2 separate regions of the Homo sapiens genome follow, and region 2 is linked to region 1. The links are contacts of gene promoters, found by promoter capture Hi-C in human tissues and cell types (Jung and others, 2019). All regions are on one chromosome and are shown on one strand. Each heading gives the region's core, a stretch centred on a gene start or on the middle of the fragment in contact. The rest is flanking DNA. Distances are from core to core; before and after follow the strand shown. Region 1 holds the start of TWF1 (twinfilin actin binding protein 1). Region 2 overlaps ARID2 (AT-rich interaction domain 2).

The links. The method cuts DNA at HindIII sites, captures the fragments that hold promoters and counts their contacts. A contact is called where the count stands out against the background at its distance.
Region 2: a contact is called between a fragment that was not itself captured here and the fragment with the promoter of TWF1 in region 1, in 1 of the 25 tissues and cell types used here (dorsolateral prefrontal cortex).

Annotation. Positions count from the first base shown.
Region 1 is chr12:43,803,798-43,808,065 of GRCh38, reverse strand. TWF1 (twinfilin actin binding protein 1) reads left to right here and starts at 1,749. Exons shown (of 9, transcript NM_002822.5): 1 at 1,749-1,845; 2 at 3,494-3,571. The coding sequence starts at 1,821. It also overlaps a transcript of TMEM117 not described here. RefSeq lists a silencer at 1,574-2,053. The HindIII fragment of the contact is 9,263 bases long and covers 1-4,268 here.
Region 2 is chr12:45,744,245-45,748,400 of GRCh38, reverse strand. All of the region lies in intron 3 of ARID2 (AT-rich interaction domain 2), which reads right to left. Among named protein-coding and RNA genes, the nearest start is that of ARID2, 17 kb to the right of the region's middle. The HindIII fragment of the contact is 3,797 bases long and covers 1-3,583 here.

The DNA.
Region 1 (4,268 bases), core at 500-2,999:
TTCCCAACTCTGTGGTTCAATTTCCAAACCTCTTAAAGTTAAAAAACAAAACCTGCTATTTTTTTCAGCTCGTCACACAGGATGTTGGTACTCAAAATAAGTCTATTATATATTATTTGTAAACTGTAAACTACCATACAAATCTAAGGTATTATTCTCATGACAGCTCTGGCAAATGTTCACTAAATGGAGACACAATAGATGAAGAAAAGTGGGAAAATATTTGTGGCTAGAGCAGAGCAAGGTACCCAAGACGCTTGCAGCTTTTAAGTCAAACTATTGTACTGGCAGTAAATAAGCACTTTCTGGTGGCTGTCAGGGTGGTCCCAACCTAACTAGACATTCCTCTTCTTCAGGACTGAGAATACAGTGGCCTTTCCCAAGCACGAATATGGAAGGATTATATTTTGCTCAACTATACTTTTGAGCAACGCCAACTTCCTTAAGCAATTTCCCCGAAGCACTAGGACATGAATCAGTCAAAATACTGCAAGTCAACTCTGCAATTTTCTCTCTGCTCAGCAATGTAGTCAAAAACTGGTAAATCAGGGTGAACCATTGTGTCAGGAAGAATTTGATTAGAATGAAACTCCTCCCTACATTTCTTAAATCCATACAAGTCATAAAACTCAGATTTAGTTTATTCCTGAATATGAGAATATGTCTGAAAAACAGAGCTCAGATAACAGGCAATAGAACATAACCTTGTTTGCTGTGATTCTTGTAAAGAAAAACAATTGCAGGCCTGTTCATCACTCATGAAAAATACATCGTATAGTACTGGAACAGTGATTAACTTGCACTTATATTATTGACCTGAATAAATTATTTCTTCATTAGCAGATTATAATTTTGTGTATGTGTCACTTCAAGGCCCTAAAAATAAGAACTAGCTTCCCACCTAGTAGCAGTAGAGAAGCAGTACCAAAAAAAAACCAAACCCCCCACAAAACTAACATTACCTTTCAGGAAGGAACTACATGTTTGTAAAAGCAGGAAAGGAAAAGATTTTTAAGTAATATCTGCTGCTACCTTACAAATCTGTCCAAGTGAATTTTGAATAATTACTGGATTAAATAATAAACTGCCAACCTAAAGCAGAGCAGGATTTGCAATGGTATAATCGACCACAGAGGGATACTCAAATCAGCTAATCTCTTAGTGGCTGTCTCTTTCCGGAGTGAAGAGAAAGATACACTGAGTCTCTAAATGTGTCCAGCTGAAAAGAAAAGTTAACAGTCTGAGATTAACTTAATTTAAAATCGTGGAAAAATTTGATGAGAGGCAGTCTATATTAATTCTTTCAAAACAATGGAGCAAGGAGAAGGCTTTTCTACACTAAACGGTATCGATTATAGGAAGAGTAAACCAAGAAAAATAATGTGCACATCTTTTTTAAGCTGGAAAATGCCTATTTGGTAAAATGATCACTTCCGTTTTTGAGCACCCCTTTGCTGAGGCAGCGAATGGCGGCGTCGGCGGGGTTGTCAGAGAGCAGACGTCGGAGCACTGAGCAGTCTAGATTCTGCGGCATGTCCCCCCCGGAAGAAGCGGGAGAGGCGGCGGCAAGAGCAGAAGCAGGACCCCAAGCAGAGAACTAGGATAGCGAGGCCGGGGGCTGGACCGCAGCCCGGCGGCCAGGAAGGGCGGCGGGGCGGCGGGGACGCTCGGGCACTCAGTCAACCTCACGGGGCGGGGCGGCCGCGGGTCGCGGGCGGATGACGCGCCGGGGCCGGCGGAGGAGCAGCCACTTCCTGGGGCCGCCGGCCGGGGCCGCTGGCTGCACTCAGCGCCGGAGCCGGGAGCTAGCGGCCGCCGCCATGTCCCACCAGACCGGCATCCAAGGTAACAGCGCCCGGCGCGACTCGCAGGGAAGGGGCTTCCGGGAGAGCCGGGAGAGCCGGGAGGGCTGCAGGACCGGCAGGGCTGGAGTCGGGCCGGGAGCTCCGGAAGTCGGTCTCGCGGGGCGAGCCGGGCCTCGGCGCCTCTCCGCGCTCCTGCTTCCCGGGCGCTGCCGGCCTGCGTCCTCCTCCAGCCCGGTCCCTGCTGCCGTCACGTTGCAGATTGATCCGAAATTCGGGGGAGCGAAGGAAATTGGCTTTCGAGGCGGCCTGGTTGAAGGGGGCGTGCCTTCCACCGTCCCCGACAGTCGCCCAACTTTCCCCCTTTTGGTCACGTAGGGAAGAGCTGGGACAGTGGAGGCGACTGGGGCTTCAGTACGCTGTCGAGAACCAGGCGAGTTTTCTTTTTCATGGTCCAAAGGAGAATATTACAGGACTTTGATTACAAAAAGAACCATGCCAGAATCTTTCTCACATCAGTAGGGGTGCTTCCCAAAACTCTCCCGCATTTTCTCTCCAAATAGGAAAATGAGAGTTATGTTCTGAGAAATCTCGAGTGTAAGCGTGTGTTTTGATCTTTTTCCTAGATACTCCCCAAGGGAAACTGATCTGTATGGTTGCATGTAATGCGTGCAGACAGTTCAATATGCAGTTATATCTGACCTCCATTATTTCCTGGTTTGAAATTGGGCAGCCTGCAGGTACTCACCTCATCAAGAGTCAAATAATATATCCCCGGGTTACTCGCGATCACTTAACGAGTTCTAGTGTAAACTCAAGCTCTTACTGTTAATAGCGAGTCTTTCTCCCAGATGAACACTTAATTGTATGTTTTATTCGTAAAGATTTTTGACACCACCGCACACATCCCCCTGCACGCACGCAGAAGCAAAATAGTCTCAAATCTGAAAACTTTGTTTTATTTATCCGCATTAATTTCGATATATAAATATGTAGTTATTGACTCTCATGCTTGAGCCTTATAGCAAGCACTACCTACTTACATAGTGGTTCTTGCTGCTAATAGACAACACAGGAACGAAATTAGAACGAAATTGAAGCTTTAATAGGAACACAAGGGTTAGTTATTAAATACATATTTATTCAATGAGTTTAATCTAGCTTTTGAGAAATGCAAGTTAGAAAAATATAACCAGAGTTAAGACTGAATGCATTTTATTGTCTTTTTCTTTAAACAAGTTAGGATATTTGATATATACTGTTGTTTTTAACGGGAAAATACAGAAAGTGAATTGATGAAGGAGTGTCTGTCATAAGCTTGAAACTGAATTAGAGAATGAAAGCAGGTTTTCAATATTTTTCAAAAGAGCAAGAAAAGTTTTTCAAAATTGTAATTTGCTCATTATTGGGTTTGAGTAACTTCAGTATATTCACCCCAGTGTTATTTCTGCACAGAATTATGTAGCTAAAACAGATTAGAATTATTAACATACTTTTAAAATGCTAATATTTATATTTCTTAATTGTATACAGTCTTCGTTATTTTATGCGGTAAAGTTTTATAATACTGATAATAAGGATGCTACATGCTCCAGATTTTTTCTTTGTATTCTAATTAACTTTTCCAATATAGATAGGAAAGTATTTATATGTAAGTATAAAAAGTTTACTTTCTTTATCTTTTTCCACAGCAAGTGAAGATGTTAAAGAGATCTTTGCCAGAGCCAGAAATGGAAAGTACAGACTTCTGAAAATATCTATTGAAAATGGTTAGTTAAATATTTTAAAATATTTTCTGTTCCTGGATTAGTGGCTGTTGTATTTTTAAACTTACTGTGTGTTGTCAGTGATTTGAACTATTAATTAATATGAAGCAAGTTCAAATCTTACGGTAACTTGGATTCCTCATATTTTGTGCAGGTCCCTATGGGCCCCTAATTTCATTCTGAATTATGTGACTATCAGGGAAACAGAAAGATGTTTTTTGATGTGACTTCTTCCTCTTTTACTTTTTGTGTCTCAGTTTCTGCACCACAGTCCATTTCTAATGTCAGTGCTTCCATCTCTGGAATGGAAATCACTAAACAGGTGATTATCAAAAAAAAAAAATAGTTACTTGTGAATTATTCAATTAAGTTTGTTTTTAAATATAAACAAAGGATATCAAACTCCCATTTTCTCCATTTGATTGCAACCTTTGCCACAGAAATGATCATTTCCCTTTCTTGTTTTGGGAAAGTTCTGAGAATATAACAAACTACAAATTGATTCTTTAAAAATAATTCTGTAAACAGGGAATCTGGTTGAGTGGGAGAATCTTTTAAATCAGGCAGATTTGAATTTGAACAATTATTGTTATAGGTACTCAGTCATAAATGAATATATTAAAATATTCCAGTGGCCTAATTTCTTAAATATCTGAAAATATTTTGCTTTGGAAAAGTAACTTGTTCTTTCACAAACTGG
Region 2 (4,156 bases), core at 436-2,935, 1.9 Mb before region 1:
TTTTTTGAGACAAGGTATCATTCTATTGTCCAGGCTAGATGGAGTCCAGTGGCACAATCATGGCTCACTGCAGCCTCAACCTCCCAGGCTCAAGCAATCCTTCCACCTCAGCCTCCCAAGTATCTGGGACCACAGATATGCACCATCATAACCAGCTACTTAAAACATTTTCTTTTGTAGAGACAGGGTCTCACTACGTCTCAAACTCACTAGGCAGCTTGAGACTGCCTAGGTTGTCTCAAACTCCTGGCCTCAAGCAATCCTCCTGCCTCAGCCTCACAAAGTGCTGGGCCTACAGGCGTTGAGCCACCACACCTGGCCGTACATTGTTATTTGAGACATAATGCTACTGAACAATTAATATACTACAGTATAATATAAACATAACTTGTCTGTGCACTGGGAAACCAAAAAATTCACTCTCATTTTACTATCATATATATTAATGTGGTGGTCTGGAATCAAACCCACAGCATCTCTCAGGCATGTCTGTATTACTCTCTCAAATCTTACCCTACACAAGACTCTCTAGTCTCATATTGTAGCTTGTGAAGACAGATAGGGAGACATTAGTGTCTATTTTACTTAAAAACAACTTCAAGTACTGCATAGAATTGCACAAAATGACACATTTACCACAATGTTAATTAATATTCTACAACTACAACTGACTCTTGATGCTTGTTTAATAAAACCACACAAAAAAATGTTAAGCTTTAGGGACAGACGAATGAAATGCTATACTATTAATTCTGTAAGTTAGAAATTTTCAATTCTTTCAGAATTTCCCAAATTAGATTTCCCACTTGCTGAGAGGCCTACCATACCCACCTGAGTTCATAAGAAGCTCCCCAAGTGACAGGAGATCCTAATTCAGTTCAGCTACAATGTATCAGATGCCAAAAAGTGCATTGCCATTAAAAAAAAAAAATCCTTGACCCCAAGACTCTGATAGTAAACTAGGAGCAGTACACTATAACTCACAAAACTAAACTCTAATTCTGCACTAGCAATGGTACTTACAGGCTTTTTCCCTGATCTACAAGAGGATAATACCTATTTCCTAGAGTTGTTGCAAAAATCCACTGAGATAAATATTTGTAAAAATAAACTATAAACTGTACAGCAACACACACGTTATTACAAAAAGATACATTAAAGAATTTTTTAAATAAAAATAAAAAGCCACAATCCCACAACTACCCTAACCATTTTCATATTTTTATTCCCTTGAAGTCCTTATCTTCAAATACTTTTTAATAAAATTATATTCATGTGAATTGGGGGAAGACAGTATAATATGCCTAGATTCCAGGTTTAAATACTAGGTCCAGCCGGGCACGGTGGCTCACGCCTGTAATCCCAACACTTTGGGAGGCTGAGGCGGGCGGATCACAAGGTCAGGAGTTCGAGAACATCCTGGCTAACACGGTGAAACCCCATCTCTACCTAAAATACAAAGAAAAATTAGCTGGGCATGGTGGCGAGCGCCTGTAGTCCCAGCTACTCGGGAGGCTGAGGCAGGAGAATGGCGTGAACCCGGAAGGCGGAGCTTGCAGTGAGCCTCGATCGCGCCACTGCACTCCAGCCTGGGTGACAGAGCGAGACTCCGTCTCAAAAAAAAAATACTAGATCCAGAACTTACTGTGTGAACCTGGGCAAGGTTCTTAAACACCTTTGTCCTGTTTTCTCATCTATAATACCAGGATATTAACAGTATCTATGTCATAGGGAGGTGTGAAGAGAAAATGAGTTACCACTTGGTGCAGTGCCCGGCACATGGCAAATTAAATAAATGTTAGCTAAAAAAATATAAACTTAATAGTCTGCTTTTTAAAAGATTCAACATGGTATCATAAACCAAAAGTATACTATTAAAGTTTCATAAGAAAAATACTTAAAAAAAAAACTTTAGCATATGTTACATTGACTGTTTTTAAAACATATCTCCCTACCATCCCTTTGTCTAGATATTTACAGTAATAGAATCAGGCTGGGTGGGTGGCTCAGGTCTGCAATCCCAACACTTTGGGAGGCCAAGCCAGGAGGATCACTTGAGGCCAGGAGTTGGAAACCATCCTGGGCAACACAGAAAGCCCTGGTCTCTACAAAATCTTTACACATCAGCCAGGTATGGTGGCACACACCTGTAGTCCTAGTTACTAGGGAGGCTGAAGTAGGAGGATCTCTTAAGCCAAGAAGGTTGAGGCTGCAGTGAACCATGATTGCACCACTACTCTTCATTCTCCAGCCTGGGTGGCAGAGCAAGATCCTGTCTCCAAAGGAAAAAAAAAAAAAAATCAAACCAGAATCTATCTATTACTTCATACTTCCAGTAGAGGTCTCCATCTAAAAAATTATGTACTAGACTAACCTTTAAATGAGTATCCTTGGTTATTTAAAAAAAAAAACAACTATCAAATATATAAGCTTTATCAAATATGTAAGTTTAGGTTTTTACGAGTAAAATATTTAATATAAAGAATATTTGCAGTAAAAAGTGTTTTTTCTCTCTTAGTATAAGTCAGCAGAATCATCTTAACATAAAACCAGGCCAGGCGCAGTGGCTCATGCCTGTAATCCCAGCACTTTGGGAGGCCAAGGCGGGCAGATCACTTGAGGCCAGGAGTTCGAGAACAGCCTGGCCAAATGACGAAACCCTGTCTCTACTAAACGTACAAAAAAATTAGCCAGGCATGTTGTTGTGTGCCTGTAGTCCCACCTACTCAGGAGACTGAAACATGAGAATCACTTGAACCCAGGAGGTGGAGGTTGCAGTGAGCCGAGATTGCGCCACTGCATTCTAGCCTGGGTGACATAGTGAGACTTTGTCTCAAAAATAATAATAATAAATAAAGGCCCCGTTTTATATAGCAAAGAAATCTCTGATAGTCTTCTAAAATTATTCCTTTTAAAACAGAATGGAGTGGTTAGTGTAATAAATGCAGATCTGATTTGGTTTCTACTTTTCCCTTCCATCATTCAGTAGTAATAATCTTAGGCAAGTCAATTATCCCCACGCAGGCCTACCTGGAAAAGTATCCTTATTTCTACCCTTCCAGAAAGCAGAGGGCTAGACCATCTTCTTAAAATCCTTTCTAGTATTAAGACTGACGATACTACAAATCAATAAATAAATTCAGTAGCCATATCCAATTATAGCTAACTACACACTTCTTGCTCCTGTCTTTAGGAATCTAAATTTTCAGGTGCTGAAAGCTATACTACTGGGCTTCTACAAAACATTAAGTTTGTATACAATAGCTAATATCCACTTCAACTTAGCCCTTTAAATATGTAAGGCTTGGTAAATTCCTATAAGACTGGTTATGAGCAAGAACTGATCAATAAATCACCAAACAGTTTGCTTAAAACTCTAAAGAGTGCTGCTTACACACACACGTGCCTGCACAAACACACACATTTAAGCTAACCTCCATAGTTTATAAAGAGGGGGCCAAAGAAGGAGGGATGTTCCAAGCAATTCTCAGAACTAGGAAGATTTTTTCAATAACCAAATTATGATTAATTGTGAGGATCAAATATACTATGTAAAAACATAACACATTTAATTTAGCATTGATGAATTTAAATGGATTCACGCAAACAAACATAAGATTTCTGACTGTGATTAAAGTACAAATTTGCTTTTCTTCTTTAGGGGGTTCATTAACCTATAATGAAGACTTGTAAGACTAAAATAATTATTTCTCATCTTGAGAATATAAAAATCAAGCAATAATTTAAATTATTGCCTTATTATTAAATATCAAGTAATGTAATCAATGGCCAGCAAAGAACAAAAGAGCAAAAACTGTTTCATAGATAGAAAAAGAAAGATAATTTTCCTCCAAATTTATCAGCACTGTAGCTGACTTGTATTTTTGTGTTAAATTCTTGGAACATAAGAAACACTCATATTCAAATATAAGGTGCAAAAATGGAATTTTAAAAATGTAATGTTCATCATTAGCCCCTCTCTTAAATATAGATAATACCTATGGATTAAAAAAAAGATACTAAACTGTAGTAGATAACACAAAAAAATCACTAAATCTGATTTCTAAGTCTAACAATACCACTCATTAAATAAACAGATAGATGAATACTTTCATATATCACAGGATTACTAAAATTAAAGTCAATAGTTAAGATT